Regions from separate parts of the Homo sapiens genome. Here all the other regions are linked to region 1. Evidence: promoter capture Hi-C in 16 types of primary human blood cells and fetal thymus (Javierre and others, 2016). All regions are on one chromosome and are shown on one strand. Each heading gives the region's core, a stretch centred on a gene start or on the middle of the fragment in contact. The rest is flanking DNA. Distances are from core to core; before and after follow the strand shown.

What was found. The method cuts DNA at HindIII sites, captures the fragments that hold promoters and counts their contacts. A CHiCAGO score of 5 or more calls a contact.
Region 2: the fragment with the promoter of LCE5A here is called in contact with the fragment with the promoter of LCE2C in region 1 in 12 of 17 cell types (total B cells, fetal thymus, total CD4 T cells and 9 more); the score reaches 15.7 in total B cells.
Region 3: a contact is called between the fragment with the promoter of LCE6A here and the fragment with the promoter of LCE2C in region 1, in 9 of 17 cell types (non-activated CD4 T cells, endothelial precursors, activated CD4 T cells and 6 more). The highest score is 10.3, in non-activated CD4 T cells.

Annotation. Positions count from the first base shown.
Region 1 is chr1:152,673,480-152,677,675 of GRCh38, reverse strand. It overlaps LCE2C (late cornified envelope 2C), which reads right to left and starts at 2,397. Exons shown (of 2, transcript NM_178429.5): 1 at 2,348-2,397; 2 at 1,107-1,681. The coding sequence starts at 1,660. The coding sequence ends at 1,328. The HindIII fragment of the contact is 8,836 bases long and covers 1-4,196 here.
Region 2 is chr1:152,509,013-152,513,496 of GRCh38, reverse strand. It overlaps LCE5A (late cornified envelope 5A), which reads right to left and starts at 2,694. Exons shown (of 2, transcript NM_178438.5): 1 at 2,499-2,694; 2 at 1,320-1,983. The coding sequence starts at 1,962. The coding sequence ends at 1,606. The HindIII fragment of the contact is 1,377 bases long and covers 1,336-2,712 here.
Region 3 is chr1:152,840,977-152,845,083 of GRCh38, reverse strand. It overlaps LCE6A (late cornified envelope 6A), which reads right to left and starts at 2,228. Exons shown (of 2, transcript NM_001128600.2): 1 at 2,073-2,228; 2 at 1,101-1,584. The coding sequence starts at 1,563. The coding sequence ends at 1,321. The HindIII fragment of the contact is 3,660 bases long and covers 813-4,107 here.

The DNA.
Region 1 (4,196 bases), core at 1,148-3,647:
TACATATTTATGGAAGCTCAAAATTACTACTGGTCAGGGACTTGAAAATTAGTTAATAATGAGACTGGCAAAATAATAAAGAGCATTGAGTCAAATAAACTGACTCAGTGCAGAGGGTGATTTAAAATGCAGACAGTACAGAATCTCAAACTGGTTAATCAGCTGGGTTTTTGTCTTAGTGGCACTAAGGGTAAGTAAGAAGGTAAACATATTAATAAGAGGCTCCATCTCTGTCAAAATCCGTCTTTGCTGAATCCATTATCTTCATGTCGACACCTGTCAGCCTGAACCTAAGAAGCACTAGCCCTTGTTTCCCCTGCTGTGTCCCTGCTTCCCTCCCCTTCCTCTAGTAATACTTAAGATGCCCCACCCATCCTGGCGCTTCTCCCCCCTCACATTCTGAGGGTGGCTTGGCAAAAAAGATAAGTATTGAAGGAGGAAAGGTCTATTCTTTCATACAGCGTTTTGTATTCTTTGTATTCTTATGTTCCTTATATTCTTTGTATCTTCTAAGCAACACTTCCATGTTTTTTCACTTAATATCTCCATCACTCATCACTCCCCTGCCCAGCACGTGAGCCAAGTGGCAGGACAGCATCCTGGGACTCAGATCTAACACTGTGAGGAACTGAAGCCAGGTGTCCAAGGCAGCAAGTCAAAAGGCTGATCTTAACCAGACTCATGAAAAGAAGCTGAGTGACCATGGGCTGTACTTTACAGGAGGAAGGGTCTCAACATCTGTTTCAAGCATTTTATCCAACTATTGATTCTAAGGGCAGGAAAGTTTTGCTTCATAGGGATGTGTTCTTCTCCCTAGAGAAGAACAAGTCTGCAGAGCTTCCCAACCTTCCCAACGTCTGGATTACACAGAAAATTAGAACATGTGTCTGGCTTAGTGGAGAGAAAGGCAAAGCTACCATAGCCAGAGGTGACCCTCTTGGAGCTCCATTCACTCAGCATCTGGGGGAATCAGTTCCTCAGAGCAGCTTTTCATGTATCACCTACTCATGTCCTGTCCTAGCCTCATGAAGAAAATTACTCTGAGGCCCTGACCTTTGGAGGACATTTGAAATCTCAGAAGAGAAGAGAATGACCAAGACATTTAGTGAGTCAGAGATCAGAGCTTTATTATAACATGAGGTAAAGGAGGAAAAGAAGACTTGCAATTGGGGTGTTACATCAAGCACGAAGTTCTTCCAGGAAAGCCCCATGAGTCTTTGTGGTCTCTGCCAACCAATGAATGGAATGAGAGGAAGTGGAAAGAGTATCCATCAGGCCGTAGCAGGTTCTTGGCCATTCAGTCCCAAGAGCTCTTCTGTAGCCCAGGTCAGCAGCAGCCCCCAGAGCTGTGGCAGCAGCCAGAGCCCCCAGAAGGTTCACTCTCACAGCAGTCGGGGCTCTGGTGCCGGCGCCGGTGGAAGAGACGGGGCCTGTGGTGGCTCAGGGAGCAGCCACCAGCCCCAGAGCTGCAGCAGCCCCCAGAGCTGGGACCACAGCAGCTCCCAGAGCTGGGACCACAGCAAGAAGAGACTGCAGGGAAACATGGAGCTGGGCACTGTGGTGGGCATTTGGGGGGACACTTAGGTGGACATTTTGGGGTACACTTGGGAGGACACTTGGGAGGGGGCTGGCACTGCTGCTGGTTTTGCTGGCAAGACATGCTGGCAGGAGTTTAGTCAACCTGAAAGATAATAATGAAACTCTTTAAATATTTCAAACCAAGGATCATATTATACCTCTTCTAAAATCAATGCATGTGTAGAAGAAGAATGATATTTAGATAATACAATCACATCAGTAACCTGAAAGAAACAACTTGAATCTTTCCTCTAGATAAAAGTACGTAGATAAAAAATCAACAGAATGAGCTTCTTACTCTTCCTTTCAGGGGAAACTGCGATTGCTCTATCCTCACAAGCCCGAATAGAGTATTCACAGCTCCCTGAAGTACCTATTCCTTTAATACAAGCCCTAAGGACAAGCTGGGTGTTGCAGGACATACCAAGGGGTCCTCTGGAAAATATTTTGCAATGAAACCTCCAGATAAAAGAGCCTGGCTTGAAGTATTTGCCAGTTTCCATGGTGTAAATATGCCCAACACAGCAGTTTTGAAGTTACCAACATGAAGTCACTGAACACAGAATTGGAAAAGATGTGCACAGTTAGCTTTCCCCACCTATATGAGCTCCGGTAGGCCTCAGAGCCTCAACAGATTCGAGGCAGGCTGAGTCCCATTCCTGCTCAGTATGGCAGAACACAAGCACACAACTCTTTCTCCAGCCTACCTCCATCCTCCCCATCCCTCTGCCTTGCTCATACCCCTCTGGTATCCCAGGTTGCCACTCACCCTGGTCACACGCAGGAGCACAGACACGTCCCTGGGGAGTCAGAGCAGATGAGATGCTGAAGCTGGATGTGTCTTTTATAGGGCCCAGGCTTGGCTCTGGAAAGAGCAGGAGGTGGCTCTTGCACAACCAGGCACACGCTGGGTCATTCCTGACATTCTCCTGCCTCTTAGTCCCTGCAATCCAAAGAGGCCTCAGGAGCTTCCAGGACTCCTCTCTGGGGCTGCAGTCTAGAGAGGCTGTAGCCAGTCAGAGCCTCCACCAGGTGGGAACCCTAAAGAGTTAACTTAGGGTACCCAAGGGACCCACACCTGGACAAGATTCTGTTCCCTGCATTTTTTTAATGCATGTCCTCTGAGGAAACATCAGTTCTGAGCCACAGCTTTCCCTGACCTTGTGGAAATGTTCCATTATGACTCCCTCCACCCTGAGCAGTTTCTCTTCCATGTCCTGCTGTGGATCCAGCCATCCCAGAGGGCTTCTACAGCCTTGGCTTTTTCTAGGCATCCCTCCCTTGCCTAGGCTCTCAGCCCTTCCTCCTGGCCTCTGTGTTTCTGCTTTTCCTCCGACTCACCATGGCAAGCAGATTCGGTGGATTAAATCTGAGTTGATTCTGTCACCTAAAGCAAGGAGAATGATTGAGAATAAACAATTCCCTCTAAAATCTAAACATTTCCTTCAGTCAGAGGACTTGTATTGAATGTGCTACTGGAATCAGAAAACTTGCATATGATAACTGGGTAATCTCTGAAAGTTGCTGTAACAATTATCAATAATTGCTAGAGTATTACTATGATACTCACTGTGAGTATCAGTTCTCACATATAATGCCCATTATAAACCTATCAGTGAGATATACCTATCTCACTGAGCTGTTTGTAATATAAAGTGAGAAGCAAGAAAGAGCTAAGTATGACATTTTGTGCCTGATAGACCCTTAATAAATATATGTTTAATAGAAAAACTAATGCCATGTATTGGATACTTGCCCCGGTCTTATGTGTCATTAATTGCCCATATAGAGCCCTTACCCTCAGAGAGCTTAACTCCACCAGACACTTAGATTATTTGAAACCTGTCTTGGGAAGTAGACATCATTTCTTGGGGCTCCTATGCAGAGGGAACTCCTTTCCTACCAGGAAGTAGAGGGTCAGCCAGGAATCTAGTTATTCAGAGTTCTGATTCAGGGTTGCACTAGACAGAGTTACCCAGTCATTTATTCATTTAGTTTAAACAGATACATTGAGTGTGAACCTTGAAAACATTACACTACGTGAAAGAAGCCAGTCACAAAAGACTGCATATTGTATGATGTTATTTATATGAAATGTGTAGAGTAGGCAAATCTCTGGAAATAGAAAGGGGATGAGGCTTTAGCCAGTTACAGCCTCTCCCAGGCTGGACCCCTGAAGAGCTGACTCAGGGCATCCGAGGAACAAGAGCCTGGATGAGATTCTGTTCCCTGTATCTCCTTTTATGTTTATGCCTGTCCTCTGAGAAATATCAGTGGCTTCCAGGTGCTTTAGCGGGCTGGGAGATATTGAGAAGTTACTGCCAATGGATACAGGTTTTCTTTGTGAAGTAATGAAAATGTTCTAAAATTATGGTGGTGATTGTCCAACTCTGTGAATATACTGAAAACCATTGAATTTACACTTTAAACAAATGAACTACAAATATGTTAATTACATCTCAATAAAGGTGTTAAAAATTAGAATTGAAAAAAATAGATATTCACACCTCTGATTAAAACAGAAACAGACTGTGCCTTCACATTGCCTAATGCCTACTTAGTGGGGGAGGGGAGGATGCGGAGAAAGCATAGTTTCCCATTGTCAGCTTCTAACTGAG
Region 2 (4,484 bases), core at 1,445-3,944, 160 kb after region 1:
AACTGCTTCTTAATCAAATTGCCCACAACTGTGAATGTGAACTATAACAGAAGTCCAAGACTAAGAATTCAGGAATTAAGGATGAGAGACAGGTTTGGGGGCGAGTGAGCTGGGAGTGGCTCAAGGGACTAGGCGAGGAAAGATAAGTCACAAAAGATACCAGTTTCATTTAACATGGATTTAGAGCCTGATTAACAGGTTGCCAGTTCCTAGAGCACCTGTTGGTGAGTATAGGTGAGACATTCCAAAAAGTAAAGTCAATATTAGAACAGAGAAGGAAGTAATGAAATAACAAGACAGAGGCAGGATCTCCTCTGGGAAAATGGGCAAAGTTCTTTTAAAAAAAAAAAAAAAGAATGAAGAACGTTTGGTAGGAATCAGTATAAGGAGATAATCTGGGCAAGTGCCTACTCATTCTGTGGGCATCCTATGATCTCATAAACCAGCTTACTTTATTTATCGCTATTAACTCTTATCAAAGGAGGCATCAATTGTTTATCTTTTATATTAAAGGCTGATTTGGAATTAACTTTTCTAGTTATCTTTTCTAGGTACATTATGAGTGTCTCCTGAAGGAACCAGCCCATTCCTAAAGAAATGTTGCTTGGAAAACCCAACACAGGGACCAAAACCCCTGTACTCTTATACCTCTCACTGCACACACACACACACACACACACACACACACACACACGTACGTCCCAACCACATAGAGACAGTCTTTGCAAAGAAGGGTGTCTTTCTCAGTTCTTTACCCAGATTCAAATCCAGGATTTCAGCATGCAGGGAAAATGTGCTCAGACGTTTCATATCTGCCTCCAAAACTCACTCACTGCCCACCCAGCTCTCCCTCTAGCCAACTGATGGAAACACCTGAGCTTATAATAATCAGAAAAGTAAAGAGTGTCCATTTATTAGAGCCCAGGATGAGCACTTCAGGCAATCTTATTCCCCATGAATGGGGACAAGCAATTTTTCAAACTGTGACCCATGCTTGAAGGAAACCCTCTCAGAACCTGAACCTTTTGAGTACAACCATCCTCTTCTCTTCAAACCCATTCCTGGCTCTCCTCATACAATCTTGTGTCTGGCGTAATGGTCTCAGACATTATTCTTTCCTTCAAGCTTAAAGTTCCAGAATCCAGTGCATAGAAGGAAATATTGTTTTCCAGAGGCCTAAGTAGCTTCACTGCCAAAATGTGCTTCCTAAACAAGTTTGTAAAGTGTTCGCTTGCATTTAAGAGAAGGGAAGGGAAGATGGCTTGATGCAGCAGGTAGGGAGTGGGAGAGGCAAACAATGAAATCAGGAGGCAGTGATATCAGGAATAAAAAGCTTTATTGTTACAGAGAAAATAGCTTCATAACTGAATTACAACACCTAGTTCTCCAAAGAGCTATGTCTGAGAGGGAAAGCCAGGCCAGAAAATATCACAAGCTAGACTTCAACCCTACAATGGAGTGAACATGGGCAGGATAAAGAGGGGAACTTAAGGCATTTCCGAAGTCCTTCCATGGGAAATGAGAGAAAAGAAGCCTCAGGCTGACACACATCTTCAGCACCTGGGATCTGCCAGTCCTTCTCCTCCGTGCTCCTCATGGCCCAGGTCAGCAGCAGCCTCCAGAGCTGTGGCAGCAGCCAGAGCCCCCAGAGCTGTGGCAGCAGCTGGAGCCCCCAGACTGCTGGCCACTGCCACTGCCACAGCAGCTGGAACTCTGAGGTCGGCGTCGGAGGGACTGGCGGGGCCTGTGGTGGCTCAGGCAGCAGCCACCACCCTCAGAGCTGCAGCAGCCCCCAGAGCTGGAACCACAGCAGGAAGAGACTGGAGGTGGGCATGGGGCTGAACACTGGGGAGGGCATTTTGGGGGACACTTGGGAGGACACTTAGGAGTACACTTGGGAGGGCATTTAGGGGTACATTTGGGAGGAGGCTGGCACTGCTGCTGGCTCTGCTGGCAGGACATCTCTGTAGAAGCTGAATAAAGCTGAAAGACAATACAAGCCCAAGGTCACTTCCTTGCCCTTAAAATTGAACTATAATTTCACAAGATTTTATCTCTAAGATGACCAGAATTTATTATTATGATTATTATTATTATTTGGGATGGAGTCTCACTCTGTCACTCAGGCTGGAGTGCAGTGGTGCTATCTCGGCTCACTGCAACCTCCACCTCCCGGATTCAAGTGATTCTCCTGCCTCAGACAGGTGTGCACCACCACACCCAGCTAATTTTTGTGTTTTTAGTAGAGACGGGATTTCAGCATGTTGGTCAGTCTCGAACTCCTGACCTCTTGACCCGCCCACCTCAGCCTCCCAAAGTGCTGGGATTACAGGCATGAGCCACTACTCCTGGCCTAAGATGAACCAGATTTTAAAAACCCAGTCTCCCAAGACCAGTAACAAGAATGATACAAATGATTTCCACCTAGTAACTCCATATTTTCAAATGAATAACTTGGAACTTCAGAAAGGCATCAGTCCTTCATTCCTTTTACCTACCTTCCACCCTCCCCTTCCAGAAGAACCTTCCCCTCCAAAATCCTTCTTTATCCTTGTCTTTCTTCAAGAATGGCCTCAACCTCCACCCAGGGGCTCTTTCTGCCCAAAACACCAGCACCAAGAGTTCATCCTGGTCCTGAGAAGCACTCTACCTGGTTCAGGCACTGCAGCAGATCACTCAGGAGACAGGTAGACTGAGGTGCTGTCAGAAGCTTCTGCCTTTTATACAATTCAGTCCTGACCTAGCATCAGGAGGTGCAGACCATGTGCGGGACGCTAGAAGCATCTTTCATAAAGGCATGGGTGACTCCCTCCCCTCGCATCCCAGGGACCCAGTTCCTCCCTGCATAAGCATCTCAAGTATTAACCCACAGGAAGATCCCCTGAGAACTGCAGGCCTCTAGGATGGTGAGGGAGCTCTGTGAATTGCACATGGCACCTATCTATCTCACAGGCAGCTCTGCTATGCCTTCTATTTTCTGAGCTGGGCCAATACGGCTCTACACCTCTGGAATGAACAGAAGTTCTGTTTTCTCTTTGGTATAGGAACTGAAGGAGAAAATTCCCAAGATGGAAATTAAATGGCCCTTTTTAGAATAATAATAGAGATCCAAAATAAAATTGTAGGCCCAAGCAAATAATCTAACATGATTTTTTTTTCATTTCTAGATGATGCCATAACCAGAACAAGGAAGGTTTGATATCTCAGTGATGTTATTTTAGGCAGATCTAATGCTGACAGTGTGGGTGGTTGGGCTTCTCTCCTTGCCTGAATTTGATGCTCCAAAACTGCTCACAAACAGTACCGATTCAGCACTAACAATGCCTTTAAAAGGGCAGAAGTCTAGGAATGGCTTATTTACTCGTGTTAAAGAAGGTGCCCTTGGCCAGCTCGAGGTGAGGCAGCAAAGACCAGGTGTATACTGAGGGTGGAGCAAAAGCTCTCCACTCATCTGGAGGTTTCCAGAAGTGAGGCACCAGTTCTGGTCATTCATAAGAGAAGAGCATCCAACCTGGGAAGGACCTCAGGAGAAGATTAATCTTTGGATGGAGAGGTGAAGAGGAGGAGTATATAGGTTTTAAAAGCCCATGGTGGGATCCAAAACATTTTCTCAGCAAACAATATTCTGAGGGAAAGTTGGGTCCCCAGGATAGTTATCAAAATTGACTTAGCTGGAAAGGGTGGCCAAAATATGGCATATTCACAATGAAAGCTGCAGTGAGAGAAAATAAGACTGGGAGAAAAAGGCAGTACCTTAGCTCCATGCTCTTTGAAATGGGCTGCAGTGAGAAGCATCAGCCCAGTTATAACACAGACCCTGGAGAGGGACATCCAGCATCAGTTCCCACCCTTGCTCTCTCCACCTGTGCAACCTCTGGCAAGTTACTTAACCATCACTGGAAAAGGGGGCTGAAAACATTCCTAATCCACTGAATAAAGAAATACAGATGAAGTTCTTAGCACAGTTCCTAGAACTGCAAGTTTAAAAAAGAAAAAACTAATCACTATGGCTATCCTTATTTCCATGAGAAAATATATGCTAAATTTCAAATTACTGACCTGCCAATTTTGAAACCAAAACTAATTTTTATGATATCAGAACTTAGACTCGATGTTTTCTTACAGCAAAATATTAAGAGTATTTGCTTGTCACTAGGGAATGAGATTATAAAGAAAGCATACTCATTATTTAAAAACACCAAAAAATAGGAAGAATTTTAAAATCACCTATAATCCCATCCCTAAAATATGGTTACTATTTTGCTATTTTCCTTCCCGTCATTTTTTTCTATATATAGTGGTTTTGTTGTTGTTGTTGTTATTTGAGTTTTGTTTGTATTTTACATAGTCTTTCTCATAGTACTTACATGAGTTTACTTTACTAACTTTTCACTTAACATTTTAACATCAACATTTCCCATGTTATTCGTTGTTTGGAAGCATTATTTTTGGTAGCCATAAGAACATTTCATGAAGGGCACAGA
Region 3 (4,107 bases), core at 979-3,478, 170 kb before region 1:
GCAATGAGGAGAATTACTAAGCTCTGAAAATGAGAATCCCATATACTGGATATTACAGGTTGAAATTCTGTTCTGAGCCTGGTCAATACAATCTATTGAGTTGGATATTTGGTTAAAAAAAGTAATGCTTTTAATGTCTTGCCAAAAATGCAGATCAACAAAATTATTTACATAAACTTATATTTATATGCATCATAGTTGAGCTTCAAGTCCCCTTCAAGTCTGTGTAATTTATGTCATGCTTCCCTCATCTCAGACTACTAGACTTGGGGTTTGGGCCCAGACTTTTCCCAGAGGTATGATCTTTTGGTAGCTGGTGTTTGATACCTAAAGCTCAGTAAACTCAGCTGGTTTGAATTATCATGAAGACTTGGGGTTATGAACTGTGTCATATCTCTCATCTCACACCTGGCACTCCAGCCAAATTGAAATACACACCATTGGCAAGTACCACCCTTGTTATGCATTTGTTTATGCTGGATCTTCCACCTGGATGAACTTTCCTCTTCACTGCACCTCCTAGCACCAAAGTCTGCTATCTTTAGAGGTCTGGGAGCCTCTTCTCCCCACTCCCAAGTGGGATACTCTCTTTCCTTCCAAGGCCTAGGAAACCACATTTGATCCACACCATCAGAATGGTTCTCCTCTCTCTGCTGTCTTTGACCTAAGGTACTTTTTAAATTTCTGCTTTAAGTTCTTTTGAACACAAATGAGAGATAAAAATGAGTAAATTAATCAGCTTAAAATGATATTTACTAATCCACTTGTTTCTATCTGAAGTGTCCATTGCATCTCCTACTGGATTATAAGCTTTCTAGAGCAGGGACAAATTTCCCACTTACATCTGTAAACACAGAGGCCAGTACACAGTAGGTGCTCAACATATGTTTATTGTAGTCTTTGGTGCTAGAATCATGCAATGACATGGGTTGATGGCTGTGAGGCTGCTGGAAACTGGGACATAAATCCCAGAACATCTGCTTCTTAAAAATACTATCAGCTGTCTTAAGAGGAAGGAGGAGAAGCACCATGCACTTGGGTTGAAGCGGGGGTCTCAGTACATCTGAGCAGGGGTCTCAAGAACTCACAGAAGTCAGGGCTCCAAGTAAAGCAGCTTTATTGTTGCTGAGCTGAAGGGGTGAATGGAAGAGAGCAGTAGCAGCGTGGCTCAGCCTAGTTCTCGCTTCTCTAGAGCTGGGGATCAGGAAGTGTTTCTCAGTCCAAATGAGAGGTTGAGGGCCTGGCTTTCCAAGGGGGAATTAGTACCCAAAGGTGGGGCAGGGAGAGAGTAACTGCACCTGTGCCTCAACTCTTCTGGGCTCAGTCGCCTTCACACTCTTCCTCTTTGCAGTGGTAGGTTGTGCCCCTACTTAGGCAGCGCAGCTTTTGACGAGCCCTCCTAGGCTTCTGAACCTCAGGCCTTTGGGAACTGGAATGACAACCTTCTGAATGGGGAGCACCACAAGGAGTCGAGTAGGGAGCTAGGCAGGGGTTTGATCTTTGGGGAGGGGAGCATTTGGGAACATTTGGAGGCTTCCAAGATTGCTGCTTCTGCTGTGACATTGCTTGGCTACCAGGTCGAATCTGGAAGAAAAATAGTTATATCAGGGACCCAGGCAGCTTGGGCTTCTGTTTCTCTCCTCCACAAACTGGAGCTGTCAAAAATGAAGTCCAGCATTTACAACCCACTGAACTCCATCTCAGGAGGAGAAAAACGGACTTGAAAGGACTAAATATTTGGGAGTAAATCTTCCCAGGGGACTCACTTACTAATAACCATGTTAATGATATATGCTTCCTTAAAAAAAAAAAAAGACAAATTGTACTTAGTTGAGCTGACAGTTTACTTTTCCCAGCCCAATGTCCACCTGGTTAAGTGCAAAGGAGAGCCAAGTCTCTGCTCTTTCTTTACTCTGTCTTATTCTGTCCCCAGACTCCTAAGTCTGACTGTCCCATCTCTGCTTTTCTGGCCCTCTAACTTCTATGGCTTTCTCCCATGTTAGATTATTTGGGGTCTTTCTTTTGCAGGGATCCACTTCTCTTCCCTTCTTTCTACCCCAAGCATCTCCTACCTGGCTTTTCAGCTCCCTGGGAAGAGACGAGAGGAGAGATCAGGACTGCCTAAGCAGCACTTGAGCTACATCCAAGTGTCTCCTCAGCCAGAAGTAGCCTTACCCTAGTGGAAGATGTGTGGACAAGTTATCCCAGGAGGAGTCTGGAGGCCTTGTGTTGCCAGGAAGTAAGAGGCTCTTTTATATATCCTCCAGTTGAAGCCTCCAGGCCACATGTCATTGGAGGAGAGCCATGGAGTGGATGATTGATCTGGGTATTTCACAATTCCCAGTGCTAGATTCCTCAGCTACATGTAGCTGGGATGTGGTTCAAAGGCATCTGCAGGTGCGTGAGTGAGCAGAAGGCTGGGGCCTTCAGATTGGCCTACGCAGAAGTGGGTACACTGGCTAATCTGGATGATGTCCTTGGGAGGCTGGGCGGGTTGCAGCTGCTGTTGAATTCTATGTAGGATTGGAGGGAAAAATCAGGTTCGACATCACCCAGGGTCTGAGGAAGACCTTCCTTGTCTACTCCCCACCCATCATCCATGACTGTCAGCATCCCATTCCGTGTCATCACCTCTGTGGAGATTGGCCCATTGCTCTAGCCACACATGAGTCCTTCATCCTCTGACCTTTATAGATACATGTCACAGCCTTTACTATTGCTTTGGGTCGTGTGACCAAGATACATATCCTATCTCACCTATTAAACTGTTATTTGATGACAGTGCCTTTATCACTTCTGCATTCCTAGAGCCTGATGTTGTTCCTGACACAAAGAAAATACTCATTAGTATTTGTTGAATGAAACAGTCTATGTGCCATTAGAAAAGACTTTGTGTTTCAGGAGAAAAAAACAGGAATAAAATAAAGCCCAACTCATTTTGTTTTGTGGACGAGACCTTGACTTCTTGTTTCCATCATTCTCCCCTAAGGCATTTGTGAACACCCTTTCATAAATACTACAGGGAACTCTGTGGGTGGACCTCACCTTACACAATAGGCTGAGCAGAGGGTGGGAAGCAAAACCTTCACACACCTGCTGTCTCTTAAATGCAAAAGGGGAGCTGTTCTTGGAATTATCAAGGGACATTGTGGAAAAGCCTTCCACAGAGTGAAAAGTTCTTCTTTAGCTTTCATGAAAATTGAGATAATCATGTTTTGGCAGTGCTTAAATTGGGAACATTCTCTAAACACAGTCCCTCACCTCTGGATGCTTCCATCTCAGAATCGCTCCTGGTGTGCCCAGCTAAGTTAAAAGGCACTGATGAAACTCCCTGCTGCTCAAGAGTGTGCCTCACCTGCCTCTGTATTTCTGATGCCTGACACACAGTAGGTATTCAGGAAACAGTTGGGTAAATAAAAAGATGAGCAATTACAAGGAACATTCTGACTGTAGGGGCAGTCCTCAAAGGCCTTCAAATCATGTATAGGACAAAGGTGAGTAGGGTTGGGGTATGGGAGAGGGTATGAAGACCAGGGTGGAAAATAGGACAAGGCCAGAAAAGGAGCAGCTATTGGATCCCAAAATCCAGCAGGGCAGGATCATCAGGTTTCAATTGCTTCATCTGGGAAAACTTTGAGATGCAGTTTGGATGGAGGAAGAGAAGATCTTTGTGAGTGAAACAGCAGGTGGAAGAATGGTATGAAACCTCGCTCACTCTGTTAGAGCAGAGCCCTGGAGAGAGAGTGCCTGATTTAGACAGCCTCAGGGATAGACCCCATCTTCCTTTACTTCCTTTTCCCTTTTCTCTCTCCTTCTCTTTCTCCTCTTTTCTTCCCTCAGACACCAGAAATAACTCTGATGGTGCCTCAGAAGTGCTTCCCTTGCACTAAGCATTAGCAGGAAGGCAAAGTAACACTGGTCTCAATGCACCAGTTGCTCCTTTTCCCCACCCAAGACCTGCACCACTTAAACACATGCTTCAGAGACCTCACACATCACAAATGCATTTTTTTGAAGTTAACTAGCAAGTACCCAACCCTTACTGTCTCTGCCTAGGGCTGAGGGTTCTTTCTGGAGGCTCTGCCCTAGGCAAACTACACTTCCTGC